Regions from separate parts of the Homo sapiens genome. Here region 2 is linked to region 1. The links are contacts of gene promoters, found by promoter capture Hi-C in blood cells and fetal thymus (Javierre and others, 2016). All regions are on one chromosome and are shown on one strand. The core of a region is centred on a gene start or on the middle of the fragment in contact, and the rest is flanking DNA. Distances in the headings are between cores, read along the strand shown.

Evidence for each region. The method cuts DNA at HindIII sites, captures the fragments that hold promoters and counts their contacts. A CHiCAGO score of 5 or more calls a contact.
Region 2: a fragment that was not itself captured here is called in contact with the fragment with the promoter of MTRF1 in region 1 in 1 of 17 cell types (fetal thymus); the score reaches 5.0 in fetal thymus.

What each region holds. Positions count from the first base shown.
Region 1 is chr13:41,262,086-41,269,025 of GRCh38, reverse strand. It overlaps MTRF1 (mitochondrial translation release factor 1), which reads left to right and starts at 5,450. Exons shown (of 10, transcript NM_004294.4): 1 at 5,450-5,541. RefSeq lists a silencer at 5,155-5,244 and an enhancer at 5,532-6,032. The HindIII fragment of the contact is 4,724 bases long and covers 3,915-6,940 here.
Region 2 is chr13:42,262,612-42,269,943 of GRCh38, reverse strand. No RefSeq gene overlaps it. Among named protein-coding and RNA genes, the nearest start is that of AKAP11, 5.9 kb to the left of the region's middle. The HindIII fragment of the contact is 5,483 bases long and covers 1-4,089 here.

The DNA of each region.
Region 1 (6,940 bases), core at 4,201-6,700:
AAAAAAAAAGGGATGGTCACGTCAAACCAGAAAGTCCAAGCATGTCATGAATGGTCTGTGTAAGTCACAAGAATAGGATTTATAAGAAAAAAACTGAAAACTTTTATATGATCAAGTTATCTAAAATTAATGAGAAATTATAATGGTCTCTCCAGGGATTGGGCTTGATGTAAAAAAAGAAAACACTTATACACTAAATAATTAGAACAATAATATTAATTTTCTTAAGGGATTGATTTACTCAATAAATTACAGGAGATTATAGTTTTCTTAACAGAAAGTTCAACTTTTATTGCATCTTGTTTTTGGTTTTCTCTCCCCTTTTAAAGGACGTGAAATAGGAACACTCTTCTTCAATTCATTTTCAGCTCATATAAGTTTTGTTTCCCCTTGAGTTCTGTTTGTTGTAGCCTGATGCTAAAATGTTTTCTTAAAGGTCTAAAGGAAATGTTTTCTTTTTCTTTTCTTTCATTTTTTTTTGAGACAGAGTCTTGCTCTGTCACCCAGGCTAGAGTGCAGTGACGTGATCTCAGCTTGCTGCAATCTTCACCTCCCAGGTTCAAGTAATTCTCCTTCCTCAGCCTCCCGAGAATGACTTACGATGATCTGTGATATCAAATGTTTTTAAACCTTCGATATTTGACAAACTTTCTAAAATCAAATTATAAATTAAGTCTTTTTTTGATCTAATTAATCCTTTAAGATATTGGTTTCCCTAAAGTCCAAAAATGACATAATTTGGCTTATTTGGTATAAAAATTACACAGGAAGCATTGTCAAATATGAAATGGTGTGTGGTTACTCCCATACCATTACTATCTGCCTAAGTGATTTCTTCTTAATTCCTGAATCAATAGCATTTCTGATGTTAGAATTATAAGGCTTTTGTTTAAGGATTAATTTACATCCCCATTGCTCTTATAGATAGGATCTCTGATGTTAGAATAATAAGAAATTTGTTTAAGAATTGCTTAATATGGTTTTCAGAGCCTGAATTTCAGTGGAATAGCTGATGCCAACCGGTTTGAAGATGCTGGGCAACATGATGAAACCCCTTCTTTACAAAAATACAAATAATAATAATAAGATTAAAATAAAAATTAGAAATCCTAGAAATTGTTCAGAAAGCAAGCTTTTTAATTTGATCGCCATTTTTTTTTTTCAACAGTTTCTCACTCTGTCACCCAGGCTGGAATGCAGTGGTGAATCACAGCTCAGTACAACCTTGACCTCCCAGGCTGAAGTGGTCTTCCCATTTCAGCCTCCAAAGTAGCTGGGACCAGAGGCACACAGAACCACACCTGGCTAATTTTTTTATTTGTAGAGGTGAGGTCTTGCCATGTTGCCTAGGCTGGTCTCAAACTCCTGAGTTCAAGCAATCTTCCCACCTTGGCTCCCTAAAGTGCTGGGATTACAGGTGTGAGCCACAGCGCCTGGCTTTTTATCACTTTTTTACTTTAGAAAAGTTTTTATTTTTCCTTTTAAAAATGACAAAGCAAAGACAATCAATAGCTGAGAGGTTCTAGCTAATCAATGAAGAATGAGTAATAAAATATCACCATTTTGCCACACCTAGTGAAAAAATGGATCTAGGCAATGAAGAGCTTCTAATATTTTAAAAGACATAACTTTTAAGAGACTCCCATAAGCAAAGTACACATAACCACAGAGCATAACCACAGCTATGAAGTAGTTTTGCCAAAAACAATTTAAACCTGAATTTGATCAAGTTTCTAGACCAGTTTACAGGAGATACAGGGAACAAAGGACACATTATATACCACAAGTCTAGAAAAATCTTAACTGTGTGAAACTCCTCAGGGCTAAGGATCCAGTTTCTTCAACAAATACATTGCAAGGAAAAAAAAAGAAGAAAAGGAGAATCTAAAGATTAAAATAAACCAACAATATAACAACCAATTGCAATCTATGTACTTTATTTGAATCCTGATATTAACAAACAAAATGCCACAAAAAAGAGAAAAAAAATCTGACACAGGGAAATTTGTTTTTTTTTTTTTTTTTTTTTGAGACAGAGTCTCGCTCTGTTGGCCAGGCTGGAGTGCAGTGGCCCCTGATCTCAGCTCACTGCAAACTCTGCCTCCCAGGTTCACACCATTCTCCTGCCTCAGCCTCCCAAGTAGCTGGGACTACAGGCGCCTGCCACCACGCCCGGCTAATTTTTTTGTATTTTTTTAGAAGAGATGGGGTTTCACCGTGTTAGCCAGGATGGTCTCGATCTCCTGACCTCGTGATCCACCCACCTCGGCTCCCAAAGTGATGGGATTACAGGCGTGAGCCACTGCGCCCGGCATCACAGGGAAATTTGAACACTGACTGGACATTAGATAATATTAAAAAGCTGTAATTTTCTTAAGAGATAAAGTCTCACTGTTTTTTGTTTTGTTTTTGTTTTTGAGATAGCATGTTGCTCTGTCACCCAGGCTGGGGTGAGGTGGCACCATAGCTCACTGCAGCCTCTACTTCCCAGGTTCAAGTGAGTCTCATGTCTCAGCCTCCTGAGTAGCTGGGATTACAGGTGCGTGCCACTGTGCTTGGCTAATTTTTGCATTTTTAGCAGAGATAGGGTTTCACCGTGTTGACTAGGGTGGTCTCAAACTCCTGGCCTCAAGTGATCCACCCGCCTTGGCCTCCCAAGGTGCTGGGGTTACAGGCGTGAGCCACCACGCCCAGCCCGAGTTCTAAATGTCTAAGTTGTTCTGCATAGTCAGAATAACTTGGCTGCCATAACAAAAAACCATAGACTGGGCCAGGTGCAGTAGCTCACACCTGTAATCCCAGGATTTTAGGAGGCTGGGAGTTTGAGACCAGCCTAGTCAACATAGTGAGACCCCCATCTCTATTTAAAAAAAAATAAAAGCCAGGTGTGGTGGCTCATGCCTGTAATCCCAGGACTTTGGGAGGCTGAGGTGGGCAGATCACAAGGTCAAGAGATTGAGACCATCTGGCCAACATGGTGAAACCCCATCTCTACTAAAAATACAAAAATTAGCTGGGCGTGGTGGTGTGCACCTGTAGTCCCAGCTACTTGGGAGGATGAGGCAGGAGAATTGCTTGAATCCGGGAGACAGAAGTTGCAGTGAGCCAAGATCAGGCCACTGCACTCCAGCCTGGTGACAGAGCGAGACTCCACCTCAAAAAACAAAAAAACAAAAAAACAAAAAACCACCAGCTGGGTGGCCTAAACAACAGAAATTTGTTTCTTAGCCTCTTGCGAGATTGGGAAGTCTAACATCAAGGTGGCAGCAATGTAGGTTTCAGTCTGATACCTCTTCTCTTGGCTTGTAGGTGGCCACCATCTCACAGTGTACTCACGTAACCTCTTCTTTGTTTGGGCAGGGACAGTGAGCAAGATCTCTGGTGCCTTTTTAGAAAGGCACTAATCCTATTATGTCAGGGCTCTACTCTTACGACCTCATCTGACCTTAATCACCTTAAAGGCCCTATCTCCAATACAGACACATGTATTGGAGGGGTTAGGGCTTCAATATATGAATTTTAAAAATAAATATTAGTAATATGCACATGATTATGAATATAAACAATTCAGTCCATAGCAGTAAGACTACTTTTTTTTTTTTTTGAGACGGAGTTTCACTCTTGTTGCCCAGGCTGGAGTGCAATGGTGCAATCTTGGCTCACTGCCACCTCTGTCTCCTGGGTTCAAGCGATTCTCCTGCCTCAGCCTCCGAGTAGCTAGGATTACAAGCATGAGCCACCACGCCCAGCTAATTTTGTATTTTTAGTAGAGATGGGGTTTCTCCATGTTGGTCAGGCTGGTTTCGAACTCCTGACCTCAGGTGATCCACCTGGCTCGGCCTCCCAAAGTGCTAGGATTACAGGCGTGAACCACCACGCCCGACTAAGACTAATTTTTTAAGGAGAATAAAGCTTTATATATAATACTCAAGTTATATAGCTGAAAGCACAAATCAGAATAAATAATTAAAGAACTTTTTGGATAACTTAGGAGAATGACTTTATGTAGACCCTTTGAAACTTTTCCCCTACTGGAACATAAGCTCCATGTGGGCAAAGGTTTTTGTCTTTTCTGTTCATTGCTAAATCCTCATGACTAGAATAGTGAATAGCACATAACTGGTGTTCACTATTTATTGAATACATGATTGAAGGTTTTTTCTTTTTTGGAGCAGGGTGGCCCTATATCAGAGCTTAGGAGCCACAGATCATTAAAGCCATTGCCTTAATTGAGTCTTGGCTCTATCACTTACTGTTTTTTACCTTGGAGTAGTTACTTTAGCTCTGTGTGCCTTAATTTTCTCCTCTGCAAAATAAGTATTTTAAGGTTGTAAAAATTAAATGAATTAATAGGGTAAAACCATTTAGAACAGTATTTAGTACATAGTACATAGAAGTAGGTACCTTGAAGTTGGCTATAAACGTTAGATATTATTTTGCATATATAGCTAATTCTCCTATCTATGTATGTGATTATAATCTAAGAAAATACTCTGTAAAGTCAGTAATATGGTACATTTTTTGCCTTTTCTTTCAGGAAGAAAAATTGAGGCATGGAGATAGAAAGACTGTAAATTGCGATAGCCAAGGGCTGGATCCCACTGGATTAGTCAAAGTAGGACAATATGCTTGCATTTTCCTGCAATTGTTTATTAACTGGAGTTTTCATTCTTCACTTAATCAGTGGTTCATAAGCTATGAATCTAGGTTGAGCCCCTACATTCCCATGTGCAAAGAACATTATAAAATCACTAACATGTGGAAATACACGGTCTCCTAACTTTTGGGGCTGTTACTACTTTTAAAATATAAATTTATTTGTATTATCCTTTAGTCATTAGGTATTTTCTGAAGCAATGGAAGCTGAAAGTATAGAAATTACACGCAGAATCTTCTACATTTGTGGATGATGTAAAAGGAGTCTTTATTTTTTTTAAATATTGGAAAACAGTGCTTTACGGGCTTCTAATACATAAGGAAATTATTGTAATTTCACATGCAATGTGTTCTAAATCTTGATCTCTTAATCAGAATCGTAAAGAATCTCTCTTCTAGGTTTGCAGTTAACGGTGAAAACCAAAAACTCCACATTTGGCTGGATAGTGAGTGGAGGGGGTTGGAGGCTGCCGCAAGGTAAACTACAACTCCCAGGATTCTTTGGTGGGCGCTCTGGGAGTTGTAGTTTAGTCCCACCTTGGCCCCTCCCTCCCTCCCTCCCTCCCACCATCTCCATCCCCGCTCTGGGCTCACGCTCTGGATAAGGACGGCGCGGGGGCGGTTGTCTGATGACAATTTCATTCTCGTTTTGTCATTTTTCTCATTTAGCTCATTTTTGTCATTTTAGTCCATTGTTAGGCATGCTCGAGGACAACTCCTCCGGAGAGCGGTAGTGGCGGAGGAGGGGCCGGGAGCGTGCGTTAACCCGGAAGAAGTGAACCAGGAAGTGAACGTGATCTCGGGTTTGTCGGGCTGAAATGTGGCGGGTCTCGGAAGGTTCCGACCTCAGTAAAGAGAGCTAACGTGTATTCTTCTTTTTCTTAGGTACTCACAGTTCTTTCCTGATCTTCCCCGCCGCCTCCTGTATTGCCTCTTTATGGAATCACTCCATATACTGAGTTACACAGCATGGTTTGCCCGTGCTGCTGCCCCGCGGGCTGTCGCTTCTGACCTGCCTACACTCAGAACTTTCCCCAAAGCATCAGAGTAATACTGTTACTGTGATGGGTAATGGAGAAGTCGTGCTGTTCTCAGGTGTAGTTAACCTTGGAGAGTAAACATCTTGTTTTGTTTTGTTTTCCTTAATGTTGAGATTCATGACCTTGAAAATTATGCATTCTACTACTGTTCCTAAAATGGAAATTTTAGCAATAAGTATTCGTACAAACATATATTTGTCATCCTTTTATTCTGTCTGTTAGCAAATGGATACACTTTCTCTAACGTGCTTGAAATACGGGGGTGGTGGAGTGTAACGTTTGTGACAGCTGGCCATTGGTGCTTTCTTCAACAGTTCTTTTAATAATGTGATGCAGTATCCTAAAATCTATCAGTAGAACTCTGGAAACTGAATATTTTAAAGACCATTCTGACTATTTTATTTCCTAGGTGATAATGCTAAGTTAACAGACTTATAGTGAACAAATGAGCTAATATATCAATGCACCTCCTAGCATAGTAGGATCACTGGAGACAGTAAAGTTTGATTTTGATAAATGTTGATCCTTCTTTTTTTGAGTTGAGTCTCACTGTGTTGCCCAGGCTGGCCTTGAACTCCTTGGCTCAAGTGATCCTCCTGCCTCAGTCTCCTGGGTAGCTGGGACAATAGGTGCATGCTACTGTGCGTGGCTTGACCCTTATTTCAACTTTGAACCTTAGAGTTTTCTTAGAACACTTTATATTCTCCCTTTCTTACTCAGTAAGACCATTGTGTACTTTTGTTAGCTCTTGATTATCTCTGTTGGAGGGGAGGAGAACAGAAAATTATTGTACACAGCCAATTTCACCTAACCTGTAATTTTTTAAACTAATCTTTTTTTATGATTAGGAAAGTATTCCATGCTACATGTGCAAGAAACTTGGAAAACACTGAAAAGTAGAAAAAATAGCAAGCAAAAGGTATTCATAATCTCACAACTAGAGATCATTTTATTAACATTTTGGTATGTTTCTTTTTTTTTTTTTTTTTTTGAGACAGCGTGTTGCTTTGTCGCCCACGCTGGTTGCAGTGGTGCGATCTCAGTTCACTGCAACCTTCGCCTCCCAGGTTCAAGCGATTATCCTGCCTCAGCTTCCCGAGCAGCTAGGACTACAGGTGTGTGCCATCACGCTCAGCTAATTTTTTTGGTATTTTTAGTAGAGATGGGGTTTTCCCATGTTGGCCAGGCTGGTCTCGAACTCCTGACCTCAGATGATCTGCCCGCCTCGGCCTCCCAAAGTGGTA
Region 2 (7,332 bases), core at 99-2,598, 1.0 Mb before region 1:
GGGGGAAAACAAATGGCTGAAAAGGAAGGGCCCATCTTTAATTTTTTTCCCTCCATTATGCTACACTGACAACCACCTCTTCTGTCTATTCTTAAAGTCAATTCTGGGAACAGAAAATGAAATTCTACGCAGATACTTATTCTTTAGTGTAAGATTTGAAAAGATAGAGGTTGAAAGCTCAGAAATCAAGAGGATGTTTCACCAAAAGAAACGAATCAGGAGATGAGTTCCAACTCGAAGCTCTGTCATTAGTGATACAACCAAATCAAGGTTCCTTATCACCACTGAGTCTCAGCTTCCTCATACATAAAACAAAGCAATGTAACTAGCCTACACCTAAAGTAGTTAAGCCTGAATTACACTTTAACATGCACATACCAGTAGGACGGAAGCTGGAAAGGGAAATGAAATGATTTTTTATGAAAACCTAACAGAGTCAGCGGCTCAACCCAAATGAAATTAGACACACACACACCAGCTGAATAACTCTGAAAACGGTTGATACAGATACCAGGAATGCTTCCCTAAGAAACCTTGGCCTTCTCAGAGTGTGAAAACGGAAACACCGCCACCTGCTCAACCTCGAATTCCATCTCTCTTAAGCTATTTTGAACCTGTGTAGTATTAAATAATGATTCATGTGTTCCTAATCAGAGTTTAAGAACTAGATAGCAAATACATTTTTTAAAAGGTCTGAGGCAATATCCTAAAGTTAAGCTAACACCTTAATTTTAACGAAAGCAAGATTTCAAGATACATAGGGCTACTTTTTAAAAGGAAAAACGCCAAAAAGAGAAAAAGTACTATTTTAACAAAGTAGGACCATTCTTTTAAAATGTTAATTGAGTATTTTTTGAGTGTTTACAGCCCTCATAATGATTAACTGAAACAGCTGCTTGGTACTACTAATTTAGATGAACTCTGGGCCCAACTCTCCCAATCGAACATGTATTAACAGAGCCCGAAATAAATCCTCCCAACTCACCTTAGCAAGACAGTCATTGTGCTCTCTTGTGCTAGCTACAATTATTTGCAGTACATTAATACAAAGTGAGAAAAAATTAGGATTGAGATCCAGTTCTGCTGTGTCCCCAGTTCCTGGATTCTTTTTAAAACTGTGTTTTTTAACAGTTTTACTGAGATGTAATCCATTTACCATACAATTCAGTGCTTCTGGTAGATTTACAGTTGTGCAACTGTCATCAAAATCTAATTTTAGAAGTTTTGTTCCTCCCTAAAAGAAACTCACATACTCAGTAGCAGCCAATCAACTTTATGTCTATAAAGACTTGCCTATTCTGAAGGTGGAAACCATCATTCTAAGCAAACTATCACAAGGACAGAAAACCAAACACCGCATGTTCTCACTCATAGATGGGAGTTGAACAATGAGAACACATGGACACAGGACACAAGGCGGGGAACATCGCACACCGGGGCCTGTAGGGGGTTGGGGGGCTGGGGGAGGGATAGCATTAGGAGAAATACCTAATGTAAATGACAAGTTGATGGGTGCAGCAAACCAACATGGCACATGTATACCTCTGTAACATGTTGTGCACATGTACCTTAGAACTTAAAGTATAATAAAAATAAAATAAAAAATAAAAAAGACTTGCCTATTCTGGACAGTTCATATAAATGGAGTCATACAATACATGGTCTCTTGGGTCTCACTTCGTTCATTTAGCATGTGTTAAAGGATCATCCATGTTGAAGCGTGTATCAGTACTTCATTTATTTTTTATTGCCGAATAACAGTTCCATTCTATGTATATAGCACAGTTTTATTGGCCAACTTATCAGTTGACAGACAATTCAGTTGTTTCTACTTTTTGGCTATTATGAATAATACTGCTTTGAATATTCCTATACAAATTTTGTGTGGATGTTGCTGATTCTTTTTAATACTCTAAAAAATAGAAGACGTTCTATTTATCCCATTTACAGAGTTCATATTTCTCCTCCTAGCACCGTTCCTTTGCTTCCAGGATTTGTCTTTTTTGCCTGCTGGTTGAAGTATGTGCACTCTATCTCCAGAGGGCTGCCATTTCTACTGCATCTGACCATGCCATTCCCCTGCTTACAATCCTTCAGTGGCTTCTCATGGTTTTCCTCATAATCTGCTTTTCTCCTTTGCTTTCATATCATTCTCCCTTTCAGACTGTCCCCTTTTCAGTTCCTCAAAATAGGACCAGACCCTGCCTGCCTCATCACCTTCCACAGGCTGTTTCTTCAGGATCCAATATTCTTTCTCTGTCCATCCCTGTTAACAGCTGAATGCCCAAGAATCCTTCACCTTTCAACTCTACTGTCACTTCCTCAGGAACTTTCGTCCTAACTCCCCAGACTAAGTAAATCCCCTTTACTTAGGACTCCCTACTTTTTCTTCAACGCATTTATCAACTTATAACAATTTTTATTTGTGTGGTTACCTAGTTAATGTCTGTCTCCCTCCTCCACTGAACTGTGAGATCCATGAGCAAGGGCTGTTTCTGTTTTTGCTTAGGAGTTCCTAAGGCACATAGTAGGTACTCAATAACTATTCAAAAAAAGAGAAGCGGGGAAGGAGGGTGTCTTACCAGACTATTCTTTATTCTCTTTAATTTGTATTGTCAGGAGTCCTCAGTAAAGTCCTGATAAATGCTATAAGCCAAATCTGTGCTATGTTAAGGGAAATGAATGTCAAGGCATGTCCCATGCTTGGGATGTTGCAGCAGGGAGAAAACAGGTGTCCCCTGCTCATACTCCTCACAGAAACGGGGTAGGGAGAGGAGAGACCAGTGGTGTACAAAGGAGCCAGGGCAGCAGGGTGGCAAGTCAGGGAACACAGCCTGTGTCCAAGGGCACCCAAGAGGGTGCCTGGGAACCCCTGTGTGTCTCCTAGGGACATTTTAGTGGGCCAATTTCCAGCAATCAAATTGGTGGTGTCTCCTCCACTGTAATTTTCTAAGTTAATGGAAATATTTCTTTCATTTTTAGACATACTGTAATAGAAACAAGACATTTGGGTTATAGGCACATGAAAGAATTATGACCCAGCAAGGTTGAATGATTTATTCTGGATCACATGGGGCACTAAATGGAATAGTTCAGACTAAAATTAGCTAGTTCGGTCTGGTCCTACCTTTCAACAAAACTAAGCCTAATACACAAAGCTAGCCTCTCAGCTTAATACCCTTGGTGACCTTCTGACTACAAAGGCAGGCATCATCTTTCCCCAGGAGCTTTGGAGCTTTACAGTAGCAGCCTCTGACAGCCAAGAGCAGATTCCATATCGCTTCCTGTTTGAAAACTTGAGTCTCCCTTTGGCCCACTTGCTGAATTCCTGCCTGAGTGATATTTCCTGCCTGAGTGATGGTCCCAGCTGGTGGCTCACTTGTAAAAGTGAGATGTCAAGTCCTTCTTTTCTACATTGTTCAGTTTTAGGACTTTGTTTTTTATGATTATGAATTAATACACACGTTATATAGAACATTAGAAAATACAAGAAAAAATAATGGAGCAGACCAGTTATTTGATGGTTGCTTTACATGTATTATTTAACTTATTATTATTTTGTGTTTGTTTGGAGACAGAGTCTCTGTCACCCAAACTGTAGTGCAGTGACCATAGCTCAGTGTAGTCTTGAGCTCCTAGGCTCAAGTGATCCTCCCCACTTACCTCCAGTGTAGCTAGGACTACAGGTGCGCACTACTGCATCTGGCTATTTTTTAAAATTTTTTGTAGATACAGAGTCTTGCTATGTTGCCCAGGCTGGTCTTGAACTCCTGGGCTCAAGCCTCCCAAAGAGCTGGGATTATAGGCGTGAGACACTGCATCCAGCCAAATTTGTTAATACTTAATAAACCAATGTATTAATAAAACATTCTGAAAGGGGAAAAATGTGGAAATTACAGTTTCATCAGCTGTTTAAATATGTAAAGGTGCTTTTTAAGTTCAAGAGGTGAAATACCTCTTTTATGCCTTCGGTTTGAATGCCTATATATTATATCACAGTCTACTATATACTTTATAATGTACATACTGTCAACCTTAATGAGATTCAGAAAATATGATTCAGTATGGAGTTTATTTGAGCATAAAGCTTGAGGATGACAACCTGGGAACAACAATTCCAGATGAATGGGGTCAGTATTCCAAAGTGGAGAAGTTAAGGTTTCACTTACATAGTCTCAGAGAGAGAAATTTTAGCAGGATTATCACATTTTCCACAGGAGACCAGTGTATTACAGCAATTTGATTGGTTATAGATTGCTACATTCCAAGGAAGATGACTTTATTACTCTGTGAGTAAGAGTAGTGATCTGAGAGGGTCTTATATCTGGTGCCTTTTGATCTTACTAATTATTTACAGAAAAAAAAGAGCAGAAGTTGCAACTGCATGCCGTGTGACTCAGGCTGCAGAGCCATGTTCCTCTCAAGGCACAGAATAATGTAAAGTTCCAACAGCTTTAAGTTTAAATGATTTAATTTCACAGCACTTACCTAATTCTTTTGTAGCGAGTGTCTTTATAAGGATAGAGACACATCTTAACCACTGTTAAAATTATACCTAGTGATATTTTAATACACGGTGGCACTCATTAACTGTTCAATGCTAAAATCATAGAATCCTAACTATACTAATTAGTAAATATAGTACAAATGATAATTCAGAAGTGCCAATCCAAATTAAACACTTCTTGAACAGCAAAATCAATCTGAGTCCTACTATATATTTTACTCAAATATAATGATTCTTCTGATTTAAATCATAGCTAATTACTGAATTATAATACTTCTAATATGTAAAACATAGATGTACCTTCTTTTAAGAAAATGTAATATATACTTGTCCAAAGTTCAAAAACAAGTAATTATGCCTAAATGTAACTAGTTGATAAGATAAAAGAGTTTATTTAAATATCATTGCTCTGCTGATTTTACATGACTGGTTTATAGTTAAATTAGAAGTGCAAGGTATTATAAAAAGCTTATGTTACAGACATTACAAGTTCAAAGAAGCATGAATGTTATCAAGCATTTCAAAAGCATTTAGCATAAGTAAATAATAGTTTAATTTACCATATAAAATTTATACACAACTTTTAAAAAATGTCTTTTGCAAAAAGTGAGATAGACTTCCTCTTCATGTGAGCCAATAGCATACATGCTTACTGCTTTAAAAAAGATGTTAGATGACTTCCCCTGGATTATATATCTAAAGGACAAGGTCAGCTTTTGGAATATTGTCCTAACTTTATGACAAGATAAAACAGATCTTAGAACAAGTTATTTCTGGGTCTGTCATTCCTGTTGCTTAGCTGCTTTGCTTGAAAAATGAAACATTAATTCAAAGTGTCAGTCAGAGCATCCTTATTCATTAGTTAGCTCACATGAAATTTAACAGAAATATCCTTACGTGATTAGATCTTTAAAGGAGGTAATAGTCATGCATATGAAACATGAATATTATTAATACATGCTTACATACGGTACAGAAAGTCATTAAACACTGGGGTAAAAATCTAGGTTGAAAAGTGGTAGAACTTTTAAGACCCCCAAATGCCTCCTAGCCCAGGCTGTAGGAAATCCTTGCTCTATTTGCAATTTTAAGCCACTAAACTACGTTAGAGATATCCAGTCTGTCCCCTTACTAGATTTGATCCCAATTTATTTTGGATTGCCCAAAGTCATCTTGAACACATTTGTTCCCCTTCACCACAATGGAATATGTGAAATCAGCTAAGCTTCTGAAAGATAGACTAGGATTTCTTGATAGCCAATCTTCATGAACATCAAAGTAGCCAACCATTTCTGATTTATTGGTTTACTGGCCTGCAACCCTTTATGGTTAGTCCAATCTTCTTCATCGGAAGGATGCAGCTACCAAAACATGGCAAATGCAACTTTAGGCTACATGAATGCTAGTGTGATGCTCAAGACAAAAGAGGTGCTAGTCCTACTGTACTCTAACTAGTCAGTATGCACCTGCATTAGCCATAGTGAAATATGACCAGAGGTGAGGAGCCTAAGGGAATATCTCATATGTGAAACTTATCTTGTTGGTATTTAACCTGAAGAAGGGGAGACTCAGAGGGATATAGTAAACTGAGGTTGAAATGCTAATGTCTGAGAACTATCTGAGGCTTCCTCTGTCCTTCCAGAGGAAGAGGACAGATTTTTGTTCAATGTGAGGGGGAAAAATAATAATTACCATTATTTTTCAAATAGATGGGTTATCTTTATAAACAATGGGTGTCAAATTTCTTGGCACTTTTGTAATTTATTTAGAAAATTCCCTTTGTAGAGCCCAAATTTATAATTCATAAATTTATATTATAAATGTATAATTTGTCATATTCTGCTCTTTATCTCTAAACTGATTTTACCATTCTTCCTGTTTAAGTGTGTCCTTACTCACATTTGATTGTGCAGGTTAGTATCCTTATCAGTTGGTGTAATAATCTTACAATGATTTTGTTATCTTCAAACAGTATGCCTATAAGCTTACTATAATGGGTATATTAAGATTCCTACAGAGCTCTAGCTTAATAGTATAATGGCCTGTACTTTTTCTATCCTTTTTAGATGGTCAGTAGCTATTCTGAAATTGCATATAAACTCCGGATGAAAGTAATATCTGCAGTAAAATAAGGTCTGATAAAATATCATACTAATTTTCATGTATGGTTTGAGGAAACGGCATTTCTTTTCTGTGAAAGAGAAGCCAACATTTATAAGGTGCTACTTGGGTTTCAGTGTCAAACCCTATGCTCTTCGAAGTTTAATATTAGTCTATATTTTTGTAACTTTAAAAAAATTATTGTGAACACTTCTTGCTCATTTTACTCTTTATGTAATTCTAAGAATTCTCACCTAAGTTCCAGGAAGGAATAAAGTCCTCCACTGAAGTCCACTGAAATGTATACTATGCTATCTGTTTCTTGATCATTACTACCTTTCCACATCAGCCTCCACTGAAGTACCCACATTTCTGCCTGGTCTCTAGCTACATGGTCAGTGCAGCTGTCTGCTACAGCATCCCCTCATTAAGATATGACTGGATGATGCCATCCTACAAACAGAGAGCCCTCTCTACAGAAATGATGCTTGATTCTTAGACACCATACAGAATCTATATTCCAGCCCCTTCTGCCAGAACATGGCAAATGTTTCCTCTCCTTGTTCTCAGTAATCTAATTTACCACCTCCATTGGGGACTGGGTTTTGTAATACTATAGTGTTTTCTCCTATGATCCAGCTTCTACTGGACCTTCTCATTTCTCACCCAGGAATGGCAATAATATATTAAGAGATCTAGCAAACCCTCTGCTTGCCCTCAGACAG